2 separate regions of the Homo sapiens genome follow, and region 2 is linked to region 1. Evidence: promoter capture Hi-C in human tissues and cell types (Jung and others, 2019). All regions are on one chromosome and are shown on one strand. Each heading gives the region's core, a stretch centred on a gene start or on the middle of the fragment in contact. The rest is flanking DNA. Distances are from core to core; before and after follow the strand shown. Region 1 holds the start of SEL1L3 (SEL1L family member 3). Region 2 overlaps STIM2 (stromal interaction molecule 2).

Evidence for each region. Contacts are between HindIII fragments. The study calls those that stand out against the background at their distance.
Region 2: a fragment that was not itself captured here is called in contact with the fragment with the promoter of SEL1L3 in region 1 in 1 of the 25 tissues and cell types used here (heart left ventricle).

The regions. Positions count from the first base shown.
Region 1 is chr4:25,860,976-25,865,156 of GRCh38, forward strand. It overlaps SEL1L3 (SEL1L family member 3), which reads right to left and starts at 2,013. Exons shown (of 24, transcript NM_015187.5): 1 at 1,700-2,013. The coding sequence starts at 1,861. LOC102723733 (a long non-coding RNA gene) reads left to right here and starts at 152. Exons shown (of 2, transcript XR_427503.5): 1 at 152-1,178. RefSeq lists silencers at 1,012-1,306, 1,577-2,036, 2,087-2,246. The HindIII fragment of the contact is 7,102 bases long and covers 1-4,181 here.
Region 2 is chr4:26,975,369-26,979,549 of GRCh38, forward strand. The region is part of intron 3 of STIM2 (stromal interaction molecule 2); the gene reads left to right. Among named protein-coding and RNA genes, the nearest start is that of STIM2, 120 kb to the left of the region's middle. The HindIII fragment of the contact is 5,400 bases long and covers 1-4,181 here.

The DNA of each region.
Region 1 (4,181 bases), core at 763-3,262:
TCCACTTAGGCCCTTAGGCTTTGCTCTCCTGACTCTGACTTCCTGAACTGTCCAGAAGTAGTCCCCCTCCTTGCCAGGTCTTGAGATGTCCACGTGGAACTTTTCGGCCCGGCCCATTTGTATATGAATGTTTCACGCAACACTCTACTACATCACTTCTGCTTCTGTGGGTAGCCAGCAGGGCCCTGTGTACAGGGATCATCTGTTTAAACTGAAATCTTGTCATTTGTTATGGCAGTTTTATTTATGAGCCTGTGTGTTGTAACCTTGTGGCATAAATATTAAATAATAATATCTCTTGGGCAAAAAAATATCATTCATGTTAACTGACAACTTCTTATGAAAATATGAAGTAAGCCCAACCACACAATTTGATATTGGCTAATTCTGAAATATGAGTAAAAGCACGGATTGCTCAACAGGTAGATGCACAGGCAGAATTATAATTTGCATTTTTACACCTTCTTGCTTCAAGAAATGAAACATTCAAGAAGTAAAAAACGTTAAAAGAAACGGGCTGAGTGGCAAATTTCTTCAGAATCAAATTCTAATTTCTGCCAGTATCTCCTAAGCAGTTTTTAGCTTCCAAAAAGAAAGACTCCAAATAATGACAATGCCACATAAGTGAAATGAATTCTGGACAATGACACTGCTCTTTTTTTTTTTTTTTTTGGCATTCTGTGAATTTCCTATTACATCAGTTTCATGATTCAGCATTTTCCATTTCATTTATTTACAGTAATATATGGCGAGATAACCCAAGGTTTCTGCAGGATTGTGGAACATAAGTTACTCTGGGCAGGAAGGGTGTCGCCTTCTGTAAATTTACTATTGTTTAGGAGAACTCAAAACAGAAGCAAGCAAGCCCTCAAAGGAACTGAGAAAATTTCTCCCCACTTTGTTCTGAGGGGTCTCAGCTACTCTGGTATTTAAAATAAATGGGTTTTGAAAAATAGGTTACTGCCCTTTAGTTGATGACTAAAACAGAAGCCAAGAAGTGTGCAAATTGCAAACTGACATGCATGAGCCAAACATATTCTCTGAAATGACAATGTTCAAGACGCAGCTAAAGTCACCACTCTGGCGGTAAGCGTGTTACAGAGAACTAGATTTCTTTCCGGCATCCGCAACTTGGCTGGAGTGACCAAGGAGGAGTTGAAGAGCGCTGGAGATGCGAGGTGCGTTGGCAGAAAACTGTCCGGGCCGGGAGGACCCGGTGGAAACTAAAAGGAGGGTCGACGCGGGTGGCGGGCGCCGAGAGTAAGAGGCGAAGTTGGGCACGGGAAGGAAAGGAGCTGCGAGAAGATTGAGAGGGAAGCCCAGGAGGGGTGGGGGGTTGGGGGGTGCTGGAGACTGCGCGCGGCGGGGCGGGGAGCGAACTCCGGGCGGCGAGGCTCCCGGGTGGAGTCGAGGACAAGAAGGGGTCTCGAGGGTAACCCGACCCGGGTCTAGAGAGAGTCCAGGAGGGAAAGGAATGAGCACGAGCGAGAGAGCAGCTTGGCAAGTCCGGTCCAAGCGCCCCTCTCCACGCCCGGGGTACCTATCCCAGGTGCCGGGAACGCCCGGGGCGCAGCGACGAGGAAGAGAGAAAACTAGCAGCGGCGTCCCCGCCCCGCGTGGCGGGTGTCCCCGGCCGCCCCCACCCGCGTCCCCGGGGCCCCGCGCGGAGGGGAAGACCCGGGCAGGGTCCGGCGCTCACCAGGTAGCAGAGCAGGAGCAGCGCGCAGGCAGAGCGGCCGCCGAGGCCCTGGGGGACGCCGCCACTCGGGACCATGGCTGCGGCCCGGGGGCCGACCGCGAGCGGCGGGGGTTGCTGCTGCTGCTGCCGCGGCCACCCGAGCCCCGCGCCGCGCCGCTGCATGGCGAGGCCGCCCGGATCCGGGCCGGAACAGGTCACCTGGTGCAGGGACCGGCCCCCGCCCGAGGCGCCACCTTCCCGCCCGCCCCCGGCCGGGCCGGCCGCCGCGCGCGGGGCCACCTGCCGCCACCTCCGGACCCGCCGCCGCCGCCACTGCCGCTCCCGCCGTCGCCGCCCCCGCAGCCCCAGCCGAGCGCCGGCTCCTCCCCGCCTCCCCGTCCCCGTCCCCTCCCTCCCCTCTGCCTCCCTGCCCAGCCCTCCTCCCGGCCGCTCCCTCTGGCCCCCGGGCTTCCACCCCTCGGAGCAGCGGGCGCCCACGCAGGTGGGCACCGACCCGGGTCCCGCCCCTTGGCCGCCGCCACCCCCCGCCCGGGTCGCTGGGCCCCGGCGCACCCCCCTTTCCCTTTCTCTCTGCTCCTCCCCCGCCCCCCTTCCGCGCTCCTGCTCTCTGCGATCCCCCTCCTCTCCCTCCGGCTCCCTCTTCCTTCTCCCCTCGCGCTCCCAAACCCCCTCTCTTTTTCACTTTCTCCTTTTCCTCCCTTTCCTCTTTCTCCCTTCCCATCCTCTTCCTCGCTTCCGCATTCTTCCTCTCCCACCCACCCCTTTTGCGGGTCGCACAGACCAGTTCCCGCCCGTGCAATGGGTTTTTGTCTGGTTGCTTTTTTGGCCGGGGCGCCATTCCCGCAGGGCGCAGGGCGAGTGTGCCCCCTGGAGTTGTGCCGCGCAGCTGCCCGGCTCCCAGGCCTTCAGGATGGATTTTGACCCCTGCCAACCTCCACCTGTCCACCTGCGGGGTTGGGACTGCCTCCTTGCTGGCATGTTTGCAGCCGGGCTGCGCCCCACCCTGCCGGCTGGTTCGCGGCACGTTCTGGATGTTTCCCGAGGGTTTTGTGTGGTGCCGCCGCCACCGCCACCACTGCGCTCTTTGTTTTAATTGTCCAGAGTATTGGCACCCAGGACGGGTTTGTATTTGATTTGCATCCCTGTGCTCCGGCTTCCACTTTGGACTGAGAAAAAAATGAATTAATTAGGTCAATACAGTAATACTGGAGCCCCAAATGAAAGGGGTGAGGCCCTGGAAGTGCGCAAACAGCTTTTTAAAAAACCAGGACACATCCTCGGCCTTGGGGACGCAGGTTGAGACTGGCTGCTCTCCGACCCGGGTTCTGCGGCCTGGCGGGGAGGGGCCTCCGGCCGGCGGGACCACCAGCTCGCCGCCGGCCTTGGCTTTCAGGGAAGCGCTTGGCTGTGTCTAGCGGCTCCGACAACTATCTGGGCCCGCAGCTGCTGCTCTGAAACAGTTAATCCACCTTCCAAAGTTCGCAGAAGCTTCCCTTTAGCACTGGTAGATTTGTGCGGATTGGAACTAATAATAGCCTGGGAGCCTGAGAGGCCACAGCCCTTTCCCTGTGCCACGAGCATAGGTCAAGTCACAACAGACGTCGGGGAGAGGCTGGTGGTGAGACGGGGTGCCCGGGATGGTTTGACGGGCGTGGACGCGCCCTCAGCTGCTTCAGTACAGGCCTGGCCACACCAGGCATGGTGGCTCCTCAGCTGTCGTCCACTTTTTTTTAGGTCACCTAAGAGCTGTGGCCTTGTGTGAGTTCCCTGGCCTTATTCCACCGGTTCTCAAACTTCAGAATTACCTGGAGGGATTGTTAAAACACAGATTCCTGGACTTCAGCCCTAGAATTTCTGACTCAGTTGGTCCTGGGAGGGACTTGAGAATGTACCTTTCTAACAAGCTCCTGGGTGATGTTAACGCGCTGGTTCAAACAGCCCTCCTCCATTTCCAGAACTATTGGCTTTTAGGGAACTGGGCTCCTGCTCCTCCCAGCCAGCTGCCACCACATTAAAGCATTTTGGGGGTTTTGACAGATGCTCCCACTATCTCTGTTCCACTTCTGCAGAAACAAAGCACTTAACATTCTTCTGTGTGACGTGGAAAACATTTATTCTATCGAGTGTCCAAGGGAACAAAAGATTTGGTGGCTTTGTCCCAGATCCTGTCTATATCTTTTCCATCAGGTCAAAATACAGACTATGCTTTTAATGTATATGGAAGGAAAATTGTCGGCCAGTTCAGGGGGAAGGGGCTTCAACAGGCATTGCAGCATTTCTAGGGTTGCCACCTGTCTTCCTGGGCCACGCTCCGGAGTTTCTCTCCTCCCACATTGTACACAGATTCTGTTGGTCTTCGGGGAGCTAAATGGTTCCTCGGGGTTGTTTGTAATCAGGATTCATGGAATTGGGAGTTTTCAAGGCCTTGTGAGCTTTGAGGATTTGGGTTTACCTAAGTGTAGGTAAGCAGAGTGCCCCACTG
Region 2 (4,181 bases), core at 852-3,351, 1.1 Mb after region 1:
TTTGTGGTTTTATCTACTTTTGGTCTTTGATGTTCGTGACCTACAGATGGGGTTTTGGTGTAGATGACCTTTTTGTTGATGTTGATGCTATTCCTTTCTGTTTGTTAGTTTTCTTTCTAACAGTCAGGTGCAGGTCTGTTGGAGTTTGCTGCAGTTCCATTCCAGACCCTGTTTGCCTGGGTATCACCAGTGGAGGCTGCAGAACAGCAAATATTGCAGAACAGCAAATATTGCTGCCTGATCCTTTCTCTGGAAGCTTCGTCCCACAGGAGCAGCCGCGTATATGAGGTGTCTGTTGGCCCCTACTGGGTGATGTCTCCCAGTTAGGCTACACAGGGATCAGGGACCCACTTGAGGCAGTCTGTCCATTCTCAGAGCTCAGACGCTGTGCTGGGAGAACCACTGCTCTCTGCAGAGCTGTCAGACAGGGACATTTAAGTCTGCAGAAGTTGTCTGCTGCCTTTTGTTCAGCTATGCCCTGCCCACAGAGGTGGAGTCTAGAGGCAGTAGGCCTTGTTGAGCTGTGGTGGCTCCGCCCAGTTCCAGCTACCAGGCTGCTTTGTTTACCTATTCAAGCCTCAGCAATGGCACACACCCCTCCCCAAGCCAGGCTGCCACCTTACAGTTCAATCTCAGACTGCTGCGCTAGCAGTGAGCAAGGCTTCGTGGGTGTGGGACCGCCGAACCAGGCACAGGAGAGAATCTCCTTGTCTGCTGGTTGCTAAGACCTTGGGGAAAGCGCAGTATTTGGGCGGGAGTGTTCCGATTTTCCAGGTAGTCTGTCATGGCTTCCCTTGGCTAGGAAAGGGAAATCCCCCGACCCCTTGCACTTCTCGGGTGATGCGATGCCCTGCCCTGCTTCAGCTCGCCCTCCGTTGGCTGCACACGTTGCCCAGCCAGTCCCAATGAGATGAACCAGGTACCTATTGGAAATGCAGAAATCACCTGTCTTCTGCATGGATCACGCTGGGAGCTGCAGATCGGAGCTGTTCCTATTCGGCCATCTTGGGAGTCTTTTTTTTTTTTTTTTTTTTAGTGGCAAGAGATGGAGACTCAAATTACCTCAAGTAATGAGAAGTTGATTGTAAAGATGCTTCATCACCAATGATTTGATTGATTGCAAGTTACAAAAATCAGACTCACCTGCTTTCTTTATTTATATATAATCAAAACTTTATGCTGTAATCCCAGCAGTTTGGGAGGTCTAGGCAGGTGGATCACTTGAGGTCAGGAGTTTGAGACCAGCCTGGCCAACATGATGAAACCCTGTCCTACTAAAAATACAAAAATTAGCTGGGTGTGGTGCGCACCTGTAATTCCAGCTACTCGAGAGGCTGAGGCACGAGGATTGTTTCAACCTGGGATGCATAGGTTGCAGTGAGCCGAGATCATAACACTGCACTCCAGCCTGGGTGACAGAGTGGGACTCTGTCTCAAAAAAACAAAAAAAATTATTTTTCCTGTGAGACAGGACAGGCATTATTCTAGGCTTTGGGGATAGAGCATTGAACAAAATAGATATTCTTCCCTGATGGAGTTAACGCTCTTTTAGAGAGACAGTGAACAAGTTTGCATGTATGTATGTGTGTAGCTACATATACACTCACACAACTGCTGGTACAGGTTATTTATGTGAAAAAATAAAGCAGGGTAACAGTATAGTTAGTGAGCAGATGGAACAAGGGCTAGTTAGATAATGTGGTCAAGGAAGAAGTCCCCCAAGAAGAGGTTTTTGGTTATAGATCAGAGTGGCGCTAGAGGGTGAGTCAGGGGACAATCTGGGTGAAGTATATTCCAGGTTTAGGGACCAGCCACACCAAGGCTTACGGCTGACACAACCTTAAAGTGTTTAGGAAACTGTTGGAAGGCTCAAGTAGCTAGAAAGTAGTAAGGAATGGGAAGAGTGGTGGGAGACAAATTGATCAGGGAGACAGACAGGGACAGATCTCATAGGACCTGGTAGGGCCAATAAGGAATTTGAGATTTACTATATGGATAATGTAAGTATATTGCAAGTATAACTCCATTTAGGAGTTTTGAGCAAAGTAGTGATGTGACTTATCTTTCAAAATGATTATTGTAATTACTGTGTGAATATTAGACTCTTGAGGAGAAGGGGTCAGGAGTAGAAGTAGAAGACCTGTTGAGGCTTCGCGTGAACTGGTGAGAGGTGATGGTAATCTGGTGAGAAGGAAATGGCTGGAAAGTCTGATTTCATGATATATTTTGAGGAAATAGCTGGCAGGATTTGCTGTGGAATTGAATTCAGGTTACTAGTGGGGGACAGGGACAGGAATAAAAGTTCATTCTTAGGTTTTATGTGGCATTGAAATTTCTTGGGAATAGGAGTAATTAGGAAAAAACCCAGAAATCTGAAGTCTCATGGGGGAGGTTGTTAATAATGGGGGAAAACATTGAAAAATACTGGTTGAGATCATGGCGCAAAGAGGGAAGGACTGAGTGCTGTGAGGTCAAGAAGTAGAGGAGGACCCTGGAGAGAAGGTGGGGAAGAAATGGCCGGTGAGATAGGAGGAGAGCCAGGAGAATGTGGGGACCTAGACGCTTAGTGAAGAAAGCATTTTAAGAAAAAGCAATGTCACATGTTCCAGAAATCTGAATAAGATGACAACACAGACTTGACAATTGGATTGGCAAAGTCGAAGTTAAGGTTATTGATCTTAACAGAGACAGATTCACTGTAGGAGTAGAAGTAAAAGTCTTTGATTGGAATGGATTAAACAGGAAGTAAGGACAATAAATATTGTTGACTTTAAAAAGGAAGAGCCAAGAAATGGGACTCTGATACATGAAGGGAGATAATGTTGTGAATAATTTTTTTTAAATGATAGGAGATTTTAATCATATATACATATATACACATATATACATATATATTTAAATCATATATATATTTTCATATATATGAAAATATAAATCTATATATATGAATATATATTATATATATATGGAATGACCCAGTTAAGAAATAATTGATACAGGAGAAGATCAAACTATCTTAATTTAAAAACTATCCCTATTTAATAGGAGAGTGCTGGTGTATAGTCAGGGGCTTAATCCACCCTGGCCCAGGTCCTGTCTTTCTCTGTTTCTTTCTGGATTTTGGTGTTATTTTCTCCTCCTGTGTTTCCTAGAGGCTAGTTCTGTGGCTGGTGGCAGTTGCAGGCTTATGTTTTCCTAGGATCATGGCCAAAGAGAACTAGGAGTCTTGCCTGCCTGTTCTAGTTAGAGAAATGCCAGAAAGTAACTGGCTTAGGTCTTGTGGCCAAATCTAGATCTGCTGCTGTGACCTCCAGAATGGGGTCCTGTGATTACTTCTTTCCCCATCTGCCTACTCCGGGTGATTTGGAGTCTTGTCTCCAAAGAAGGAAGAGAGAGAAGGAGTAACCTAGCAGCCAGCCAGCCATTACAGATTAATGACCAAGAATCACTAGACTTTGAGAAGAGCAGGTAGAAGAAAACCTTGAAAGGATGCAGGGTTGGGTGGGTGGTGTCTGGCAGCATGGGTCATGTGATATAAAATATAGCTACTCTTTCAGAACATCTCTAAGTTCCTGAAACTTGCAGTTCAAAACTTTTGGACCATAAATGGATTTTCTGAAAGGCCTCTTTTGGTCCCACTCTGAATTTTACGGTAATTGAGTGTATCACTTCCTAAATAGAGACATTTTATTAAATCCCATTTTGGTATTTTAATGAAATGAGCTAATGTAACTCTCACCACTGAAAACTTCCAAAATCTTCCTGGCTATTACAGATTTTTACTATTGCCTGGTACTTTTTACTTTGAAACCCTAGGTGAGTTTACCTAGAATCTCCAAACATGTCTGTATTGTTAAAGATGAAACATAGGTATTTTTAAAAGCATCAATGGAGGAGGAGAAAAGTGAATTTGAGGCAGCAAAAAGTAGGCGCTGTCTGTGCTGAGTTAGTTTGAAAATCTTGAGAAAGAGATGCTTTCTGAATACTGGTAAATTTGAGTAGATGGTTCTTCATGAGCTAACCACTCTCAAAAGAGAAATAGTAATTGTCACACTTCAGTAATATCTAAGAATACCAACTACTGTTACACTTTGTACTGAAGCTTAAGAACGTGGAAGGTTTTTGCAGTGCCATGTCTTCATACTGTACTAGAGCTCTTGTCGTTTGGGTTACTGGTGAAT